2 separate regions of the Homo sapiens genome follow, and region 2 is linked to region 1. Evidence: promoter capture Hi-C in 16 types of primary human blood cells and fetal thymus (Javierre and others, 2016). All regions are on one chromosome and are shown on one strand. The core of a region is centred on a gene start or on the middle of the fragment in contact, and the rest is flanking DNA. Distances in the headings are between cores, read along the strand shown. Region 1 holds the start of MAP4K3 (mitogen-activated protein kinase kinase kinase kinase 3). Region 2 overlaps TMEM178A (transmembrane protein 178A).

The links. The method cuts DNA at HindIII sites, captures the fragments that hold promoters and counts their contacts. A CHiCAGO score of 5 or more calls a contact.
Region 2: a fragment that was not itself captured here is called in contact with the fragment with the promoter of MAP4K3 in region 1 in 3 of 17 cell types (endothelial precursors, total B cells and naive B cells); the score reaches 7.5 in endothelial precursors.

Annotation. Positions count from the first base shown.
Region 1 is chr2:39,434,885-39,441,824 of GRCh38, reverse strand. It overlaps MAP4K3 (mitogen-activated protein kinase kinase kinase kinase 3), which reads left to right and starts at 4,540. Exons shown (of 34, transcript NM_003618.4): 1 at 4,540-4,933. The coding sequence starts at 4,838. MAP4K3-DT (MAP4K3 divergent transcript) reads right to left here and starts at 4,409. Exons shown (of 6, transcript NR_037875.1): 1 at 4,290-4,409. RefSeq lists silencers at 4,287-4,506, 4,577-4,936 and an enhancer at 5,267-5,346. The HindIII fragment of the contact is 5,405 bases long and covers 3,564-6,940 here.
Region 2 is chr2:39,704,702-39,711,641 of GRCh38, reverse strand. TMEM178A (transmembrane protein 178A) reads right to left here. Exons shown (of 4, transcript NM_152390.3): 3 at 4,456-4,593. Among named protein-coding and RNA genes, the nearest start is that of TMEM178A, 42 kb to the right of the region's middle. The HindIII fragment of the contact is 5,873 bases long and covers 451-6,323 here.

The DNA.
Region 1 (6,940 bases), core at 3,291-5,790:
TAACCCACCTGAAAACCAGCTCCTCACAAGCCAGTTTCTGACTTTTTAAAAAAAGTATAAATTTTTCTTAAGCATGTTTGAATTTTGTAAGTAAATTTTTCTAGCTGGTCTGTAGTAATCATTTCAAAACATATACATATATCAAAACATCACATTGTACACTGTAAAGACATTCAATTTTTATTTGCCCATTATGCCTCAATTTAAAGCTGGGGAGAAATGAAATACATAAATAATTTTTTTTTAATGATAGAATCTCACTCTGTCACTCAGGCTGGAGTGCAGTGGTGCAATCTCAGCTTACTGCAACCTCCTCCTCCCAGGTTCAAGCGATTCTCATGCCTCAGCCTCCGGAATAGCTAGGATTACAGGCACGTGGTACCACTCCCGGCTAAGTTTTGTATTTTTTTTAGTGGAGACAGGGTTTCACCATGTTGGTCAGGCTGGTCTCAAACTCCTGACCCCAGGTGATCCACCCGCCTCGGCCTCCCAAAGTGCTGGGATTAGAGGTGTGAGCCACAGCGCCTGGCCATAAATAAAAATTTTTTAATTAAAAAAAGAAACCTGATTTTTTTAGCTCCATTGCCACCATCTCCCTCTGTCTTCAGAATTTAAGCACAATTGTCTGTTGTATGTGCCATATTATTTCACATACATGCTCTCTGTGTGATTTTCCTCCCCTGGTGGATGACCTGCTTCTGGCATTTTTTTGAGCTAAGGCTTGCTCAGTATCCTGTTTCCAGAGCAGCTAATGTACTGAAAATGTGAGTGGTGGTTATGTTATATGAGGAGGGCTGAGGTTAATAGGCCAAAGAAGGGGCTCCAGTGAGTTGTCAGACAAGAGGTCGAGGATGAAATTGGGAGCCTGTGCAGGGGATCAAGGGGTTCCTAAGCCAGAAACCCATGGGGGATGGGGCAATAGAAGGATGGCCTGGACATGCTGGCAGGTGGGGACTGCTGCCTATCTTGGCCTTCTTGTGTTCCTTGCTGTGTGATGCTTAAACGGGTAGGTGCTTCAAGGCGCTAAGCAGCCAGCCTGTCATGCACCACTTTCCCTTGTCTGCCTATGCATTTTTCAAGGTTCAGCTTTAGGGTTATTCCTTTTTTTTTTTTTTTTTTTTTTTTTGAGACGGACGCTTCCTCTGTTGCCCAGGCTGGAGTGCAATGGTGCAGTCTCAGCTCACTGCAACCTCCACCTCCCGGCTCAAGTGATTCTCCTGCCTCAGCCTCCCGAGTAGCTGTGATTACAGGGGACGTGCCACCGCGCCCAGCTAATTTTTGTATTTTTAGTAGAGATGGGGTTTCACCATGTTGGCCAGGCTGGTCTTGAACTCCTGACCTCAGGTGATCCACCCGCCTCGGCCTCCCAAAGTGTTGGGATTACAGGCATGAGCCACTGCGCCCAGCCAAGGGGTCATTCCTAAATCTTCCTCCCGTCTGCATTAATGTCCCTTCTCTGTGCTTCTCACACTATTTATGAGACTGTCAACTCCTTGAGGGAAGGCATTGTGGCTTTTCTTTTCTGTATTCAATACCACCAGAATCTAATAATCATTGCCTCTAAATACATTACAGGGAGGTAGAGGTTGGCTTACCATAAGAGAAATTTTTTACAGTATATTGTATATAAGCAGAGTATAGACTAGTGGCTAAGAATCTAGCCTTGGTGTCATACTGCCTTTGTTCAAATTTCAGCCTTCTGTGTTACCTTGAGCAGTTTAATCTGTCTGTGCCTCATAAAATGGAGATAATATTACCTATGTCATTAGGTTGTTGTGCGAATTAAATGAAATAACACATGAAAAATACTTGGCTCCATTCCTGGTATCTTGTAAGCACTTAGCAATGTTAGAAATTACTACTTTTCTCCTAGTTATTATGATCATTTACTAGCACTGTATCACAACGAGGTGGGTTGTTTTGGGAAGCAATGAGTCACCTTTTATTGAAAGTATTCAAGCAGCAGCAAATCCAGCAGAGATGCTGTAGAAGCAGTTCCTGAGTTAAAAAGATTAGATGACTTCTAAGAATGCTTCTAATCATAGAAGAGGGAAGCTCTTTCTCTGATTCTAGGAAAGTGTGATCATTAGTGTTACTTCTAGCAAAACTGAGGATTGTTAGAACAGGGGGAAAAGGCACTGGAATTGGCCACATGCATATATTACAAAAAACAAAATATTTTCTTTGTGAGCAGTTGTTTTACTTATGTTGTAACCCACATGGCAAATCAGGCCCTTACATGGAAATTCATCTCTTCTCAAAAGGACTAGCTTGGCCCTGCCAAAATGGAACAGACAAAACTTTAAAGACTGTTCTAGCCCTACTGAAATGTCTTTTCCTTTTGAAAGCAGTCTATTAGTGATGCAAATGCAAAGTTATTTGGACAGACGATAATCTCAGCAAACAAAACACTGAAGTCATTAGAACTTTCTTGTGCAGCTTTCAGTCCTGAGAATTTGGCTTTCTGGCACTAAAAAGGCAGAGGCCGGGTGCAGTGGCTCATGCCTGTAATCCCACCACTTCAGGAGGCCGAGGCAGGCGGATCATCTGAGGTCGGGAGTTCAAGAGCAGCCTGACCAACAAGGAGAAATCCCATCTCTACTAAAAATACAAAAATTAGCTGGGTGTGGTGTTGCATGCCTGTGATCCCAGCTACTTGGGAGGCTGAGGCAGGAGAATCGCTAAGAACCCGGGAGGCAGAGGTTTCAGTGAGCTGAGATTGCACCCTTGCACTCAAGCCTGGACAACTAGAGCGAAACTCCTTCTCAAAAAAAAAAAAAAAAAAAAGGCAGAGGAAAAGAGCAGACCTGGCTTCCATTTGGGATAATTTGTCAGGTCTGCTTATCTGAATCCTTGGCTAATTATTCTTGCGCTTGGCCTAAACATGCCAAACAATTCTCCAAATGTGGACAAACTGAAGGAAGGCCTGTAATCTGGGTCCTGGGCAAGTACCTTAAACAAGCAAAAGCAAGACCTTTGGCTATGGAATAACATTTATAGTCAGGAGTTTCTCAAGATACCAGAGCCTGAAGGTAGATCCATCGAGAAGATATTCAATGATATGCACTCCTAAGGCAATAATTTAAGTGATACTTTCATATTACTGATGCTTTAAAATTTAATAATTAAAAATTACACAACTGAAAGGCTACTTATATAGGTGAAGAGATAACCATTTTCAAACATCAATTTAGTCAACAGATACTCAAAGTAAACAATTTGAGAATTTAGTACATATGCAATTTTCCTATGAGCAAAAGGATTCAAAAGATTTTTTGAAAAAGTATGAAGCAGTTAACTCTAAGTAGTTTGCTCTACTATTAATTTATTATACTTATCCTTAACAGGTTTGATGAGACCTAGTTTCTCAGGAGCCACGAGGTATTAGGGAATATTAGTGGTTAGAAGGTGTGGTGCCTAAGGGGATTAGGAAAGCATTTCTGAAGCAAAACTCCAACGTGGTATTGCCAAAGTGGCCATCACCTAATTGATTAAAGCTCCTGCAAATGTCTATTGGGAAGTTCAATGAGAACAGAAAAATAACCTTCCATTACCCTCAAGCTTTCTTGGGCAAGTATTAACAATCGGAGCTGGAGTCCACATAGCTCAGATGTAAGACGCGCAATCTGGGTCTTAAGCAGGGTGGGGTTTTTGGGTAGGTAAGGTCACAGCTAAAGAGCTTCCGGATCGTCACGTGTTTATATTTCAGGTGCGGTAATAGATCTAGTCCACTCTCCACCCCTTCTTTACAGGGTTGCTTGACAGCCTGCGCAGTCCCCGCCCGTCTTTGATAATCCAACCCTCTTCGAAGAGGGAGGTCAATCACTGCTTTAGTTCTGCGCTCTGCCTGCCTCCCACGCGGGATGGTGGGCAGCTGTTCCGCGTGTTTTCCTCCCGGAGCTTTCACGCTCTGCCCACTGCACACACCTCCCTCGCGGCCCTCCTGGCCTGCCCTCCTTTGCACCCTGGCAGGCCAACTCCAAGGGTCCGAGTGTCGGTGACAGGGGCAAGCAAGCACAGCTCACTTTTCCTGGGGGTTTTCCTCACGGTGTGTTTAGTGACCCCTCCCCGCAATCCCAGAAAGGCTGCAGCACTCCATGGTATCCTACATGTAGCTGCTTCTAAAATAATAAAGGCTGGGACATTGGCTGTCTTGGATATTACCACTATGCTACCTGCTTGGAACTGGGACCAGATAGACCAAGGTCCAACTTTGTCGTTAGGGGAATCAGAAACGAAAAGAAGCCACTTTCTGCTAGTCCTAACCCCGGTCCCTGGGCCAGGCAAACCTTTTCAAGCGTCCGGCGGCAGCGGCCGGGCGCGGGTCCGCAGAAAAGCCGAGGCGTTTCGGGTCCCAAGCTGTTCCGCCGCCGGCCCCGGCCTGGCAGGCGCGCGGAGCCGGAACGCGCAAGGGGTCGGGTGCGCGCCAGGCCTGGCGCGCTCCCTCCGGGATCGCGGCTGCGCAGTCGGGCGGGAGTCGGGAAAAGGGGAGGAGGTTGGAGGAGCCGGAGTAAGGGGAGGGGGAGGAGCGGCGAAAGCGGAAGCCATGTTGGAGTTTCACCCCGAGCGAGGGGCTGCGAGGGTTCTCCTCTCCTTGTGGGTGTGACCAGGTTCGGCGCGGCGGCGGGCCGCGGGGGGCGGGGACGATTGGCCGCTTGTCGTCGTCCGCAGCGGCGTGAGGGGAGCGGCGGCGGCGGCGGCGGCCGCAGCGTGGAGCCGGGTGATTGTGACCGCCGGGGGAGCCGGGAGCCGGCCGCGGCGCCCTCTCTCCGTGTGGCCCCCTGAGCGGCCCCCCTCCCCTGCCCGGGAGGGAGGCGGGGGGCACCTGGGGCCCGCCATGAACCCCGGCTTCGATTTGTCCCGCCGGAACCCGCAGGAGGACTTCGAGCTGATTCAGCGCATCGGCAGCGGCACCTACGGCGACGTCTACAAGGTAAAGGCAGGGGCCGCGCGCCGCCGAGGCCGTGGGATCCCGACCCGCAGCCAAGCCTGGGCGTCCGAGCCCTTGCCGCCTGTCCTCGGGAGACGCTGGCGCCAGGGAGCAGTCGGGGAGGAGGAGCTGCGGACGCCAAGGGCTCTGCTGCCTTGGTGAACAAAGGGCCGAATGTTTAACCCCGAGACCTCCCCAGCCCTTACCTGAGCCCCCCCGGTGGACATGATTTTTGCCACCTCCCTTCTTGCGCGCATTTCCAGGGAAGGGCAGAACGAGAGCAGGCCACACTGCTCATCCATAGTGCAGAGAAGGTCTGGGCGTTTGTTGCGTTGGCAGGGTCAGCGCGACGAACCGGACAGCAGGGGTCTGGTGTTGTCAAACCTGCCTGCTTCACGCCAACCTGGGGTCGTCCGCTCTAGGTTGGGAGCTGCTGCCCACCAGGCCTCGGTGGTAGTTATTATACTATGCTGAGCGACCTCCATCTTCCATCGACAGCTCTCAGCCTTTAGCGCCTTATTCATCCCCCTGTCAGTTTCTTTTAATTTTCCAGAGTAATGACTTTTTTTTTTTTTTGGAAAGAGCAACTTTGTTTTCTCTAAGTCGAATTGGACTGCGATGCCATTTAAACTTGTTTTTTAAAAAGTGACTTGAATACTTAGGGAAGGTACTGGTTTGACAAGGTTAGAATTCAAAGTCCAGTAGCGGTACAGCATTCCTGTTGTAGAGGGACCACTTCTAAATGTGGGAAGATAAATCACTCTTCCCTGGCCAACTCAACTCTTGGCCTCACAGTTACTGCCAAGAAGAGAGGAGGTTGTTGCCAAATGTGGCAGCAGTCTTGATTTAGTTGTGTATCTTCTTACTGGTAACTGAAGTTGAACTCCTCCAGTTTCACATAACACCTGAGGATGCACAAAGAAACTTAATTTTGCATTGGAAAGTTCAGTCTTAACTTTATTTTGCCCATGTTTAAGCAGGTTTTTACTCTTCAGTGTAATGCCTGTGGTAACTTACATATTTAATACAGTGCAGCCAGTGTTCTGCTTTAGTCTGATTTTCTGGATGATCTACTTTTCACCATCGTGGATCTCATCACTTTTCCTACTATGCAATATAGATATATTGAGCCCACCTACAATGTATGAGATACTTGGCAAGTAAGCACTTTGGGTTGTAGCAGTAAACGATAGACTTGGTTCCAAATCTTCCTAAGTGTTTCTATTTTTTTGGACAAGGACAGTATTAAATAGCCATTTAAATAATTATTGCCGTTTAATTTTGTGATGCAGAAAAGAGTATTAGGATCAGGGTTATGAGAGCATGTAATAGGAGGACCTGATCCTGTTTAGGGTATCAGACGCTCATCGCCTTTCAGCTGAGATCTCAGAGATGATTAGGCGTTGCTTAGGGTACTGGGGAGAGGGGATTACGCCAGATAGGGGAGCATGATATGTGAAGGCTCTGAGGCCCGATGTGAAAGAAGGCCTGTATAGCCTGAGCAGCCAGAGCGGGAGGGTGGCCCTAGATCTTGCAGGCCTCTTAGTTCTCATTAGGAGATCGGACTTGTTTAGGACAATGGGGAACTATTGCAGGCTTTTAAGCAGAGGAGTGACATTAGATTTAGGTTTTTAAAAGAGCTCCCTACTACAGCATGAAGAGTGGAATGGAGCAGTTGGGAGGCCACTGTGATAGTCTAGGTAAGAATAATGGTGTTAAGGAATATGGTGATGACTGTGAAAGTAGAAGTGGATGGATGCAAGTCACTTATGACTGGTTGGGGGAGTTCGCTTATATTGCGATGAAAAGTTAACTAAAACTCGATGAATGTATACGTTTTAGGTGGCAGGGTATACAGTGAATTTTTTTACAGGACTAATTGGCTGTGTACTTGCTATATTAAAAAGAACAGTTAGTAGTTAAGCCACATGATTAAAAAGCAAAAAAAAATTAGGGCCTGTAATTTCCTAAGTGTAATAGAGGTATACTAAGTTGGTTAATCTTGTCATT
Region 2 (6,940 bases), core at 2,138-4,637, 270 kb before region 1:
TCATTAAAACAAAAGAATGAATAACCAGTGTGGGTGGGTGTTAACTGTCCCTGGAGCTCTGCTAGGGCTGCCTGGACTCTGTCTTCTCTGTCTCTGCTGTCAGGAAGGGACTGTCTCATGCTGTGTGTGATCTTCCAGTTGGCCACTCAAGGCACAGCCTGTGAAGGTGAATGAATTTCGTGAGCAGTGAGACCCCCACCAAGGGAGGCCCAAGCTTTATCCAATTTTTAAGACTCCTGGTGAATTAAAAAATACTAAAAATCCTACAACAGAGACCTTAAAAAGTGTTTTAAAATGTTTGCACTGAATAACCTTTTAAAAGATTTATAACTTAAATTATAATAAGTATATATTATACCCATCTAATAGAATGCATCACTTAATAATGTAGGTGGAAATATTCATTCACAGTACACTGAAAGCAGTATAGTCTAGTAATGGGCAGAAGCTTAAAGCTGGAAGATAAGAGTCTTATTCCCTCAGTCACCTGTGTATGCTTCTGTGCCTGTGTGTGTGTAACCTCAGAGGGTGTGACATCCAAAGTCTAAATTCAAGGCCGGTGGGAGATGTGCAGGCTGCCCCTGGCTCTCTGGGAGGGCCCTTGCATGGCCCTAGGGAAGAGGAAGAGGGGTGAGACCTGGCTCCAGATGTGCATCGACAGTCAGCAGGGCTGCTGTGTAACATGTGGTAATCAAGACCTGTCTGTGTGCAATCAATAAGGCAGAAGGAGAAATATCGTTTCAGAGTTTCCATTTTAACCAGCCAACCTGTCACATGGTTGATGTTCTTCATTTGAAGGTTTAGCTAATAAGTTCAGGCACAGAATGAAGATGGCAGAGCATTAGAAGGGGCTAAGTTTAGCATCAAAAATCTGTGGGAAGGATGCTGACTTGAGTGGCTAAAGACATTCTGCTTAATTAAAATCGATTCTTTTAACCCTTTTTTTGCTCTCATCTCCTACTGCATGTGAACGTTCTACAGCTAATTTATCTCAAGCAATAGATTGACATGGTTGTCTCAGTGTTTGCAAAGGAAATTTCAAGGCATTATTTGTAGTAACAAAAGCAAAACAAACGCCCCTAAATCCCACAGCAACAGAACAGGTGAATCCAGCATAGCATATCCACTCCATGCTCCTCCTCTCCCCTCTTCCATCCCCTCCCCTTTCTTCTCCTTCCTTTTCCTTTCTTGTTTTTTTACAGTGAAGCAAATACATGGCAAGATTTGGTCCAAAATAAAGGAAATATTGAAAAAAGGTTGTTTTGTTTTCAGGTGATGAGGTCTGTAAGTGGATTCCCCCTTAATTTCAATAACGTTGTTTGGGCAACCAAAACAAAACAACAGAACAATGTTAACAATGTTAGGTTGTATCTGTTAGTCCTTCAGAACTGGTCATCAAACTTCAAGTTTATTGTTTGGGTTTTTGTTGGTGGTGGTGGTGGTTTCTGTTGTGGCTATTGCTTTGCATATTTTGATGTTGCCTAACAATTACACAGGAGCTTCCCGTGCTCGATCCTGAGGACCTCTGAGCTCCTCTGGTCCAGAGGTACAATCCACACATGGATCCAAAATAAGGGCTGAGAACAGGGAGAGGTGGAGCTGGCCCAGGAAACTACTGCCTCTCCTCTGTGCCCACCTGCCATTGAACCTTCAACTTCCTTTCATTTAAAACCAGACTGGCCCCTCAGTCTCCCAAGGAGCACTCAGTAGGCTTTCATGGTCTTGTAATTTATTTTAGTTCTAACAATTGTTTCATTTGCTAAGAGCATACTAAACTATTCAGGCAGTACATATATTTAAAGTATCCTTTAAAAACTCCTCCTACTGAGGCTTTTGTCCACTCCAGAGCATCCCCCATTTTCCTGACAAGGGGAGTGTTATGGGGCCTTTCCCATGTGTTGGGAGGCAACACATCTGTACCTCTTTGATATTTATGGAGACAAGAGTCAGAGAAATGGGGGCTTAAATAAAGGGAGAGAAGAAAACGGGGGAGATTTTTAAATAACCATTAAGCCCCAGCAGAGGTGTAAAGGAATCCTCTGTGCAGTGCAGTCCTCTCTGGTTCTTTGCTGCCCGCGTCTGCTTTAGTCTATAATTTGGATTTTAAATGCATCCCTTGGGCAGGAACCCAGTGGCTGGTCTTGAGGGTCCAAATCCTCCTCTAAAACCTCAGAAACTAACATTTTAGCCTCCCTGTGCTACAGTCCTGGTGGCCACTGTGTATTCACCAAAATCTAGAAAACCTAAATTGGTTTTCTGCTGAGAACTAGGCAGCATCCATGTGACTTCTGAATGTTCCAGGATGCTGGTGATGATGCCCCACATTCCAGATCACTGCCAATTGCAGCACCATTTCGTGGAGTGGGATAGGGGTGAGTGGGAGTTAGAAGGAAGGATCCCTGCCTGTGATGTGGGTTCCTTAAGGCTGCAGGGTGGTTGAACATGCCAGAGGGCAAAGTACCCCCTACCCGTCAACGCTCAGAGACAGACAGTCAGCAAACAGTGTCAGCCCCGGTGGGGTGTGGCTGCCTCCTGTTAACGCAGGCTTAATTAAGTGACCCATTACAGTGAGAAGTGCAAGAAAATCTAGGCATAGTCACTTGAATAACAGAATTCCAAGCAAGTGGAAATAAGCCTATTTAAAATGGCTATCTATCTCGGGGAATATTAGTTCTGTTGCTGAGTATACTGTGTGAAACTGTTAATGCCCAGTTAATGTGGCATTCACTAATCATTAATACACGAGTTTTCTGTGAAGGAGGAGAAGAAAGGAAAGATTTCTTCCCTGAAGCTACCTTCGGTCAGTGTTAGCCATCAACTCAGCACCTGGCACATTTTTAGACAAAACTACCCTTTAGCTGTTAGTCAAAAAAATCCTAGCCCTGTCTCCACACCCCCATCTTTCCAATCCCTTCTTTAAAAATCGGCCGGGCGCGGTGGCTCACGCCTGTAATCCCAGCACTTTGGGAGGCCGAGGCGGGCGGATCACGAGGTCAGGAGATCGAGACCATCCTGGCTAACACGGTGAAACCCCGTCTCTACTAAAAATACAAAAATTAGCCGGGCATGGTGGCGCGCGCCTGTAGTCCCAGCTACACGGGAGGCTGAGGCAGGAGAATGGCGTGAACCCGGGAGGCGGAGCTTGCAGTGAGTCGAGATCGCGCCACTGCACTCCAGCCTGGGCGACAGAGCGAAACTCCGTCTCAAAAAAAAAAAAAAAAAAAAAAAAAAATCAAGTCACTCCTTTGCTTCAAACCTTCTAGTGGCGTTTGTCACCCTTAGCTTCAAATCCAAGCTCTCCACCATGACCAACAAAACCCTGACGCTTTGGCCACTGCCCACTTCCCCCACCTCATGTGATACTATCCTGTCCCTCACTCCCTCCAGCCCCACTGGCCGCTTCTCTCAGGTTTGGCACTGGCGGTTTCCCCAGTCTGCTACGCTCTTCCTACCACCGGCTGCTTCTCACGAATTAGCTGCGAAATCGCCACCTCAGCAAGATCTTCCCTGAGTCCCTGTTTCACCCTGTTTCTTTTCTTCACAGCTTTTATCACTACCACAAATCATTGTTTATGTCTCTCCACAATAAAAATGAACAAGAATTTTGCCTGCCTTATTCATTGTGTGTCTTTAGCACTCACAGCAGTGCCTCGTACATAGTAAGTCCTCAAAAGATATCTGTGGACTAAAATGAATGAGTGTTGTGTATGTAAAAATGACACCATCACTAAAGCATGCTTTGAATTGACATCCAGCGGGGCATGGGTTGTGCTGATCTATCCCCCTCTGTCTTTGAGGGCACCTCATAAGCAATGGTCCATGTTTGCCAAGAGTCCAGGCCAGGGTTTGGGGCACAGTATGAAAGAAGGAACAGAAGGTGGGGTGTGGTGGCTCTTGCCTGTAATCCCAGCACTTTGGGAGGCTGAGGCAGGCAGATCACCTGAGGTCAGGAGTTCGAGACCAGCCTGGCCAACATGGTGAAACCCTACTAAAAATACAAAAATTAGCCAGGTGTGGTGGCACATGCCTGTAGTCCCAGCTACTCAGGAGGCTGAGGCAGGAGAATCACTTGAACCCAGGAGACAGAGGTTGCAGTGGGGCAAGATCGCACCACTACACTCCAGCCTGGGTGACAGAGTGAGACTCCATCTCAAAAAAACAAAAAAGAAAAAAGAAAGTACAGCAAAAAAACAGACTGGGCTCATATAGAGATTAAACCCAAGACACTTCCATCCAACCTACTAACAGGCCACAATGGGGATATAGAGGATGCATTTCTCACACTGTTGTTTTCCTTAAATTCTGTATTTTCCAGCAAAGCCAAAATGACCTTCTGGTTGCTTTTCTAACAGTGAAAACAAAATTAACAGGGAGATAACAAAGCGACACTAGCTAGCCGCATGCAGAGCAGCCTTCACCTTGGCTGGGACAGACGGCCTGAGGCATGCAGCCTACCTGTCATGAGGAACAGGAGTCCAGCCACGTGCTGGGTCAAGCTCTCCTCCCAGAAGAAACTGACTGTGGCCACAATGCAGCCGCAGAGAAGGACGGCTACGGCCATGCCGAGGAAGCCAGCAGTGATTCTTCTTAAATCTAATCTCAAAACAGACACAGACATTCACAATCAGAATTCAGGAAAGTCATTAAGAATTAGAGAATTAGGGCTTTGTATACATTGTGAAAATTAGTAAGTTACATGGACAGGCTTAGAGCCCACAGGACAAGGAGGCATAGGGAATACTCTTCCCAGGTATTCCATAAGAGGACTGATGGGGTGTAACCAATGGAGGGTCAGACTATACCGTCTCTGAGTCCGTGGAGAAGTCCACACTAAGTGGAGAATAGACTAGAGGACAAGCCCAGGATAGACCTGAGTAACAGATGTCAAATGACTTAAACAAAGAGTGAGGTGGGTCTGAGAAATATCTGTTAGCCTTAACAGAACAATAGAAATGTAGGTTAACCAAAAACCACCTGTACCCCAAAAACTATTGAAATTTTAAAAGGGGAAAAAAAAGAAATGTAGGTTACTACCCTGGTAGTGGCTGTACTTAATCTAGCTTTGGAGAAAGAGCCTAAAAAAGCTATTGTGAAATAGGGTTTTATCTGATCACCACAGATGCCAATTATTTACTTCTTCATTTACATCTACTCCTGCCTATTTTCAAAAACAATTTGAGAAAGCGAAGGCAATTGTGGTGAGTGGAACAGTGGTGTAAAGTGCACACAGGATACATGTGCTCATAAACACCCTTTCCTCTGAAACATCTGCTCAGAAATGCCTTCTCCCCTAAAGCATAGATCCCACAACCTGGGCATCCATTTACCCAGGTGAAGGAAGTACTAGTCCAATAGGATGAGTCTCCACTACATAATCTCCACTATACAGTGGCCCAACTGTCTAGTTTGGTCTATTGCAAAAACACAACTGTGATCACTGAGCCAGAAATCCAGCTCTTTCCCCACATGCCTGACAAAACCAAGAGGTAGGCTGACTACGTGTACCTGGACACAAGTTGCCTCCAACTGCTAAACCAGCACTCACCTTGCCTACCTTCCAGCTATTTTACTTTTTCTATTTTCTTCCTTCTTTTTTTAAAAAATGCTTTTGAATCTTTTCTATTTACCTTGCAGCTCCATCTCAAAGGATTTTTTTTAACAAAACTAACTTTAAAAATTGTTCGCTAAATTTCAATCACCCTTCTTAAAACAACACATCCCAAGCATACATCTGCTGCCCCCAAGGCCAGGTAACAGGTCTGGGCAAATGCACGTGGATCATCCACACCTGTGTACACATGGGGCCAAGACAAGGTGCAGATCACACTGTTCGAAGTGTGGGCTGCTCTGCTAAAGTGAAAGTGCCCATGCAGCCATCACTTTATTGTGTGTTTGTGTGGCTCCTGGGCAGCTTAGGGGCGGCTTCATGGAGGATGGATTACAGTAGCTTCCAGTCTTGCTCTTAGCACCTTAGCCACAGAGAGACCATCCCTTTTTTAAAGAGGGATTTCTCATTTCCCACTCAGAGCATCCAAATTAAAAGAGAGTATTTCTGCCTAGAAGAAGAAATGTGGACACCAATGAATAAGGGGCCAGGAGCAGTGATAATTTAAAGACGCTGAGTTTAATGTTAAGGGTATAAGTAGTTTTTGAGACAGCCACATCTGAGCAGGGGAAATGTAGTATGGTTCAGTCACCATTATCTTACAGCCTCCCAAATTTCCTATGGTTTGAGTGATAGTCTATTTTCTGTGACTCTGAAAAGGCACAAGGTTCAGATATAATCCACATGGGATTTGCATTAGTACCAGTCATGTTAAGCTTATATAGTAAATGTGCTACAGATCACCAAGTGTGACTTTCTTAGAAATAGACATGCATGAGACTGCTAAAAGCATCTTTCCATGAGAACTCCAAAAAGGATTAAAAGAAGAATCTTCAAATACTGCCTTGCTGGGCAATCACAAGGTACAAACTATTAAAGAGCTAAGGTTCTTTTTCAGGCTCCTATGATGATCTTTTCTCCCCTGACCTGAGCCAGTAACTACATGGCTCTCTGGAAAGATGATTAAGTCTTAAAGTTGCCTGCCATAATATGTATATTAGACCACTGCTCTGGCAATATCATAAGAGCTTCCATTTATGTGTTTGAGATTCAGAACAGAGCCTTTTAATCCGCAGAGAGATTTACTTACAGAATGAGAGACTCTGATTAGTTTTCTACAGTGGCTTTGGCCACCAAACAAGATCCTGAAGTCCTTGTTACTTATTTCATTGGAAAATGACAATGTCAACCTCTGATGGGGGCAAAGACCAAAAAAATTCACAGTAGTTTTTCGTTTCGGGGAGCTATCTATCATCAGGCAGCTTAAATCAACAGTTTTTAGGTAAATATCAGCCCTCTTTAGTTTCACACTGCATGATGCTTTCTAGAGTTTCA